Linked DNA regions of Homo sapiens: all the other regions are linked to region 1. The links are contacts of gene promoters, found by promoter capture Hi-C in human tissues and cell types (Jung and others, 2019). All regions are on one chromosome and are shown on one strand. Each heading gives the region's core, a stretch centred on a gene start or on the middle of the fragment in contact. The rest is flanking DNA. Distances are from core to core; before and after follow the strand shown.

The links. The method cuts DNA at HindIII sites, captures the fragments that hold promoters and counts their contacts. A contact is called where the count stands out against the background at its distance.
Region 2: a contact is called between a fragment that was not itself captured here and the fragment with the promoter of SPINK14 in region 1, in 1 of the 25 tissues and cell types used here (spleen).
Region 3: a fragment that was not itself captured here is called in contact with the fragment with the promoter of SPINK14 in region 1 in 1 of the 25 tissues and cell types used here (heart right ventricle).

What each region holds. Positions count from the first base shown.
Region 1 is chr5:148,167,166-148,169,941 of GRCh38, forward strand. It overlaps SPINK14 (serine peptidase inhibitor Kazal type 14 (putative)), which reads left to right and starts at 1,381. Exons shown (of 5, transcript NM_001001325.2): 1 at 1,381-1,402; 2 at 2,496-2,634. The coding sequence starts at 2,568. The HindIII fragment of the contact is 5,009 bases long and covers 358-2,776 here.
Region 2 is chr5:148,489,952-148,492,727 of GRCh38, forward strand. The region is part of intron 6 of HTR4 (5-hydroxytryptamine receptor 4); the gene reads right to left. All of the region lies in intron 2 of LOC107986462 (a long non-coding RNA gene), which reads left to right. Among named protein-coding and RNA genes, the nearest start is that of FBXO38, 110 kb to the left of the region's middle. The HindIII fragment of the contact is 3,001 bases long and covers 1-2,776 here.
Region 3 is chr5:148,469,519-148,472,294 of GRCh38, forward strand. The region is part of intron 2 of LOC107986462 (a long non-coding RNA gene); the gene reads left to right. It also overlaps a transcript of HTR4 not described here. Among named protein-coding and RNA genes, the nearest start is that of FBXO38, 87 kb to the left of the region's middle. The HindIII fragment of the contact is 5,700 bases long and covers 1-2,776 here.

The sequences.
Region 1 (2,776 bases), core at 131-2,630:
TAAATTACTTTCCAAGTTGACAAAACATTATAAATTGATGTTCTGATTCTGCGTTCAGAATCCTTTCTAAACAACAGGATGCATCTACCTTTCCAAACTGGGGAACAAATGATCTACTCAGGAAGATAGCAGGTTGTTTTCAAAATATTTCTTGTAAGTATGGAGCCCAGAATTACAAGTATGGAGCCCAGAAATGTGATGAAAACCACCACCTCTCTCATATTCTAGGTGACCTAAGTTCTTTCTGGAAGTTTTCAATGGGTTTATTTACAGGCATTTATTAAAATAAAATATTAAAAGACAAGTTAACTGAGGTAAATAAAAATCTGCCTATGCTAGCACTATTAATAACAATAAAAAATTGGCATCACCCTAATTGAGCAACAATTAAAGAATATTAGTATAATTAAAATCCACATATGTGATGGAATATGACACCAGGCATCTAAATTCATGTTCAATATATTTAGAGATCAAGAAAATGTAATAGTGCATTTCTAAGTGAAAAAACAATATATATTATAAAAGTTGAATATTGTAATAAAACATATGTACCTGTGTGATTATGTATATATATTTAAACTGGAAGAATATAATTTTATATATATTTAATAGGTACCTCTGAGTTGTAAGATTTCACACCTTTTTATTTCATTTGTATATTTTTTGTTTTATATATTTTATTTCATTTTGTATGTTTCTTTTTTTTCATATTTCTATTTGGCCATTTCTATTTGTATGTTTCTACTTGCTCCGCCTCCCTCTCTTTTTTGTATATTTCTATTTTATAAATTTTCTAAGTGAGCATATATTTTCTTTGTATAAGAAAAATAGCTTTTTACAGAAGGAATGGTAGAGGCCAGAAGTTCAGATAATAGGAGGACCTTAAGCTATAATAATATATCTTCCCTGTTAAAATGGCAAAGGCTCTGGGTTACTACAGGCACAAGGCTGGATCTACTGCAAATGGTATCCAAGGATCTCATCTGTCACTGCAACCTCCTGTACCAGCCTTTTCTTTATTAGATGTTTCCACACATGTTTTCATTCTGGTCCTAATACTGGTCCTGGTCTTGATACTAATTATTGTTGTGGAACATGTTATATTCTTTCTGCTTGCTCTTTCCTACTGTGGGATGTTTTCTCATGCTATTGCCTCTCTTGAATTGCCTGCTAATGGCTGCCCTTTCCAGTGATCTCTTCTTACCCTCCTCAGGTCTTCCCCTGCTGAGGTTTGATGCAATCTGAATGATGGATCTCCAGGGCCTGCTCAGTCCAGCACACAATGCCTCAGTGACTTTTCTGTCCTACGCAGCAGTTACTCTATTTCCTCCTGGGGCCCTAATACATGCTTCTTAGAAGGAGCACATTATATTCCTCTTCCTTTTCTCTTCTTTCTGAGGTGGGTCAGCTGTGACATGAGGGATGGAGAGAGTGGGCCTCTGTGTTTTGCTCTAGTTTTCTGGCTGCAGCTGAACTTGTACTGTTCCTGTTCCATTTCTGGAGGAAGCCAGGGAAAATATCAGGATGAGATGGGGGTGTGTTTAGCAAAACATGGTGTCCCAGATTGTGCCAGGAGTAGGCATGGTAGGCAACCTTTCATAGTGTACAAAGAACTTGCAATCATCCTGAGAGTAGAATACTCTGGCTACATTTTAATGTCTTAAGTAACACCTGCCACATCAGAGCACATCAGCAGAGTTTATATAAATTATCCATTGACATGTGTTGCAGACAGAGATAAAAGCCTAGAGAACATATGGAAGACCAGGCTACTTTTCTAGAATTAGGAATGGAGGAACAGTTAAATGTGGTCCTTGGTCAGGCCCTGGAAACTGCAGTTTCCATTCTCTGGGGTCAGAAATGTTGCTACAAGGAAAGTCCATCCCGAGGGAGGATTTGCTCTCTGACTTTTCCCTTTCTGTGTCTGGATTAAAATAGCTGTGGGACCCCAGTGAGATGGCAGATAATGATTTTTCTCCCTGTGAATGTCCTCAAAGAGTCTGGGATTCAACATCAGAAGATCCTTGGTATAGACAAGCATGCCTGAATCATCAGAAATCTTTGTCTTAATCCAAAGAGGTATTCTTTGCTTGACGAGCAAGTACAGATCCACTCCACTTATTGAGAAGTTCATGTTGTCTAGGGACCTCAATAGCCCCATCTTTTTTTTTGCATCCCCTCAAAAGATAAATTTAGGTGAAGCTTCAGGTAAGGAGTTGCTTTTTCATGACATGTAAAATGTTTTCCCACTAAAATAATACACTTATGCCCACAGAGTAACCTATGATTTACTTCTGAGTATTCAAAGATCTGTTACTGAGCTCTATACTTTTAATCAAGATAGTTATTCAAGGTTTAACTTTTTAAACATTTGTTTCTGAAGAAGAATGGAATAGGCTTTCCAAATACATAGTACTGAGGATACAATGGGTGGAGTAGAGATGGCTCTTCATTGTAAAAGTCATCTTAAATCCTGATTGTCTCTACTTTAGTGATTGTATTAGAGGGCAACAACCTGAGACAATATTTCAGAGCATCATTCCAAGGACACACCAGGAGGAAAAATGGCCAAATCTTTCCCAGTATTCTCACTTTTGTCCTTTATCTTGATACATTTGGTGTTATCTTCTGGTGAGTAATTTAGCTGGTCTTGGCCAGCAGTTGAAATTGATTTGTGGGCTTTTACATCATAATCTGAGAGAGAATGCTTTGAAATTGTTCTTTAACTGGGATGAATATATATATATGTGTATATATATATAAATTATCCATT
Region 2 (2,776 bases), core at 186-2,685, 320 kb after region 1:
CTTCTCCCTTTATGGCTATATTATATACATAGTCCCAAAAGAAAACCAGAGGCAGAGAAAATAATTTATAATTTGCAACTCTGTCAAGGAAAGAGCATCCTAAAATCACCAAAATGTGTGAATAGCCTTTCAGTTCAATTCTAGAACTCACCCTTTTGGAAAGTCATGCAAATGTATATATACATATACATGTATATATATAATATATAATATACATATACATATATATGTATGTGTGTGTGTATATATATACATATATATATGTATATATATCCTGATCAGTAAATATATCCAATATTTTTTCCAAATGCAATCTCAGGCATCAAATTAGCTGTTTACCACTAAGCATCTATGGAGATATTTCTCCTTTGGAAATGTCTACATTTTCTACCAACCCCAGATTGCCAAAGATTCAGTAAAGGAAAGCAGAATGGCCCCCTAAAATTGACAGTATCATTTCTGACATATGTCTTCTCATTAGTAATATTTCCAGAAATTCTCCAGCTTCAACCAAACAAAATGTTACACTGGCTGAAATAGAGTTTGCTGTCCCCTACACTTAACTGCACTGTGGGACGATGCTTATGATTTTGTAACTCACAGAATCACAAAAAAAGGGGCTGAGAACGTGTTATTCAATCTACTCACCTCTTCCCCAGAAATGTTGACTAATGAACATTCAGTTCTTCCAGTTACTGATATTCGGTCAATCAACACTTTTAATTGACTGATGGTCATCCAATTGTCTCCTTCAACTTTACTAGGAACTCCCTAGTAAGGCAATCCATTCCATTTTGTGCTGAAATACATGTTCTTATAACCTCAATCCTTTGTTTCTTACCTCTCTCCCTCACATTATGCAGAAGAAGTCGAATTCCTGTTTCCTCTAACAGCCCTTTAAATATATAAAAACAATAATTATGACCTAAAACCTCTTTGCTCTAAGCTCAGCATCCCCAGTTCCTTCTACTGTTATTTATATGTCATAAATTCTGTAGAGAAAATCATGGCATTTACCCTCTTCTGAACATACTCCGGCTTGTCAATTCCCGGTATAAGATGAAGCTTTTATCATTTCCATGGACCAGGTACCTGCACATTGCACCATGGACTAAACACACATTTACATGGGAATATGGTTTTCCAATGGGTATCTCAGTGTGCTTTGGAGGAGATTTCTTCCTGAACAGCTGCTCTGACTAAATTGGAAGGTCTGTGTCCTCGCCAAGTACATGCTGTAAGAGAACAAGCTCCTAGAGCCTGCCTAGTGGAAAGGGCTTATCTGCAAGGTTACTGCCGGTACTCTAACCACAGAAGTTCAGGACCCTTCCTCCTAGAAACCGTATCAGTCGCCTTCTACGGCGCTATATATTTTTTTTTTTTTGGTCTTGCCTTAAGAATGTATGAGGATTAAAAGGAGCCAAATGGTGCAGGGGCTGAACCTCCTGGTACTGTTGAAAGACCTCTCCTGCTGTCCTTGGCAGTGGCAAGGAAGTTCTCTGTTGTAAAGCTCAGAGGACTAGTTTGAAGCAGGGTTTCTTAACCTCGGCACTATCTGGAAATCTGGGGCCAGGAAATTCTTTGCTCTGGGGTGTTCCATGCATTGTCGGATGATTAGCAGCGTCCCTGGCCTCCACCCACTATATACCAATAGTATTCCCACGTTGTGACAACCAAAAATGCCACCAGATATTGCCAAATGTTCTCTGGTAAACAAGATCATTCCTGATAAAGAACTACTGGTTTAAACCCACACAATCTCAGTGATCTAAGACATGCAGCTAGATCTAAACTTAAAGCATTATCTAATTCAACTTCCTCATTTTATTGGTGTTGGGAGAGGTAATGACTTCCTGATGATCACTAAGGGATTAGAAGACAGGCCTCCTGCTCTTTCCAGGACACCAGCGGTTGTTAACCCTGCTGCGCACTCAAGCTCCTAAAATAAATGGATTTCTGCTTCCCAACCAGACCCAATTAAAATGGAATCTCTACAAGCAGAGCTCAGGCTCAGGTATTGCTTAAGAGGCCCCAGGTGGCTGTAATGTGCAGCCAGGGTTGAAGGCCAGGGCACCACATCACACTGCCTCTATCTTTGACCTCAAATAAACCACGTTGGGCATTTCTGGAGCTGAGTGTTGTTTGGGGGCTTGCCCTGCAGGGTGGCATGCATAATCCCTTTTTACTGCGAGCGCTGATCTCTGAGGGCTGGTACACAGAACCTCGACACCCTGACAGTGGGTGCACCTACGGAGCAAAAGGGGGAAAACAAACACACACGGAATGTGCTCAACTTGTTTGACATGGCTAGTATATTTTATGTTGGGTCAAAGAAATGCCTACAGGTAATTTAAAATCCAGAAGGCATATTCAAAATAACAGCCCCAACTGTTCAGCACAGGGTATGATGTACCCAGGAAACAAGTCTTGTCTCATGTTGCTTAAACAATTGTTTATAAACAGTGTGATTAATTTATTTCTGGCTTTTCTTCTAGTAGAGGAGCCCTGCATCCCTTGTTTCAGGAGAAGTGTTTAGAACATGGAGATTTCTATTGACTCATTTCTTAAGAAATTCTTATCAGGAAGCTGAGAAAATAACTGGAGACCTGGAGGAAGATGTTTTACCAAGATATGAATGATGCTATGCAAATACTTATGATAACAATGTAGCAGTTTCCATTGATTGAGTGCTTTCTGTGTAATAGGAACTGGCATATCCCTGAACGGATGTTATCAATTTAACCTTAACAAAAGCCCCATGAAATGGGTTCTAATA
Region 3 (2,776 bases), core at 71-2,570, 300 kb after region 1:
GTAGTGGCAGTCTGAGTCCTGGCACATTCTGAAGCCAGCTCTGCAGCATAAACAATAAGTTCCTACACGGGGGTTGTGTTTGTTTGGTCAGAGCTTTATCCACTAGGCTTGGTCATCAGCAGTTGGCTGGTTACAAATGCAGTCCTGAGACCAAATGGCTGGAATCCAATTATCCCAGCTTCCTGTCTGCATAACCATGCCAGGGAGGAACATAGTCATGTTTGCCTGCCTTGTCAGGCTCCTAGGATGCAAAGTATATCATTTGGAGAAAACTAACAAACAACAGATCCTCAGATATTTTGATGGAGAGGCAGTATGATGTGGAAAGAGGACACATTGGTCCAGAATGCAAAATCTCTGGCGCTAGTCCACATTCCGCCTCTTCCTGGCTCAGTATCTAACTCTTCATTTCTCCAAGCTTCATTTTCTCATGTATCAGAGGGAGATCACAACAGCAACAACAGGGTGGTTGGGAGCTTCTAGTGAGATGATGTACGTGAAAGAGCTTTGAAAATTATAATGATGATAATGGTGATGGTGATGGTGATGACAACAGCAATGATAGCTGACAGTTATTGAGAACCTATTGTGAGAAGGGCACTGTCCTATTTGTTTGATGGTCACTATCTTATTTAATATTCACAAGTATTTTTGAATAACTGATGACAGTGGTAACGGTGCTATTAATAAAGATAGCTAACATTTCTTAAATATTTACTATATATAAGCCTCCTTTTTCAGCATTTTAAGCATATTAACATATGCAGCTTCCCATCATGTAAAATAAGTGCTATTATCATCTCTACTTGACATATGAGGAAAATTAGATACAGAAGTTTGGCAATTTGCTCAAGATCATACTGACGGTAAGAGGCCATAAGGATTCAAATGCAGGCATTCTGACTATAGAATAGGAGTTGCCAACTTTTTTAGAGTTAGCAAACTTTTTCTGTGAAGGGCTAGATGTAAGTATTTTAGGCCTTGAAGCCACATAGAGTCTTTGTTGCATATTCTTTTTTGCTTTCCTTGTTTTCCTGTTTGATTGTTGTTATTTGTTTTTATACCCCTTTACAAATGCAGAAAACATTTTTAGCTCAAGGATCACACAAAAAAACACACATATGGCTGAACTTGGCCCACAGAGCTGTAGTTTGCTAACTCTTGCTCTAGAAGTAATTTCTTTTTTTTGAGATGGAGTCTCGTTCTGCTGCCCAGGCTAGAGTGCAGTGGCAAAATCTCAGCTCACTGCAACATCCACCTCCCAGATTCAAGCGATTTTCCTGCCTCAGCCTCCCAAGTAGCTGGGATTACAGGCACCCACCACCATGACCAGCTAATTTTTGTATTTTTAGTAGAGACGGGGTTTCACCATGTTGACCAGGCTGGTCTTGAACTCCTGACCTCAAATGATCTGCTCCTTTCAGCATCCCAAAGTGCTGGGATTACAGGCATGAGCCACTGTGGGCCCAGCCTCTAAAAGTAATTTCTATTTTACAGATAAGAAAACTAAAGATCAAAAGCTTCAGGAATTTAACTAAGGCCATTCAATAAGTGCTGAAATCAGGATCTGAATCCAGTTTTGCTTACTTTCAAAAATTGTGTCAACCCACACTACACTGTCTCCGTGTATGCTGTTAAAATGTAGGATATTATTACTGAGTTAGGGATACTGTACTTTCTCCAGTCAATTTTCAAATTGAATATAGTTTCTCCTCTTGGAACAGACTTGGGGGCTAGATAGCAGGCTGAGAGCTAGCCGACCCCATGCCTAGTACAATGCCTGACACATAGCAGGCATATAATACATAACTCCCTGTTGAGTGAAATAATTCTGATTTCTGATTGAATTCAATCATTCCCCAATATCTCAGCCATTTTCCCAGACTCTTCTGTATTTTGCATTTGAATCATGCCTTCCTTGTAAAGGAAGGCAATAATATATTCCTTAATCCAGTTTCTAGGGAACCTGGAACAATTTATGAGATAATTTCCATAGAACTATGTGGAGGAAAGAAAGATGTTATACGTAGAAATATTATTTTTACAATGAGTCATTGTGCTCACAAAAATGGCACTAGAAGACTGTACTTATGACTTCTAAATAAATACATCACTAACCACAGGCAGGAAAATAGGGAGAACCTAGTGACTTTATTATAAATCACTATTGTTGTATCCACCAATACAGATTCACATTAAAGCAGGGATTTTAATTGTTATTTAACGTTGGATTTTTATTTCAGGGAATAAATGAACTTCTTAGAAATGTGGCAAAAATTGTGTGCATATGTCCAGATTTTTAGGGAAAAGATCATGGATTTCATCAGACTCTCAAAAGGATTTTTTATGCCCTAAATGTTAGCACTACAGTAGAATTGTTTCAGTGTAGTTTACCTTTGATGAGAAAAAGGGAAACACAAAAAGTTGCTGGTGTGTGGTGATCAGTACTAGGTTTTCCAGGTGTCCCTGTCCGTGTGATGCTTTCTTATACTCTCAGGATACTCACATAGGGTTCCACTCACCAGTTTCCCACTGGCATAGGTGTCTGGGTCTGCAAACCGGTCTGGAAGATTAATCACAGTCCAGGCTGGCCACAGTGACCAGCATTCAGAGCACCCAACAGGGTATATGCAACCACAGAAGGTGGCAATACAGAGTCTCTTCCATTTTATCTTCAGCCCCAAGATCAGGCCCATAGAGACTGGCATAACAAGCCCTGAGTCTATTATTTTGCATTACTAGCACTTAGCACAATGCCTGGCACACAGTGGGTGTC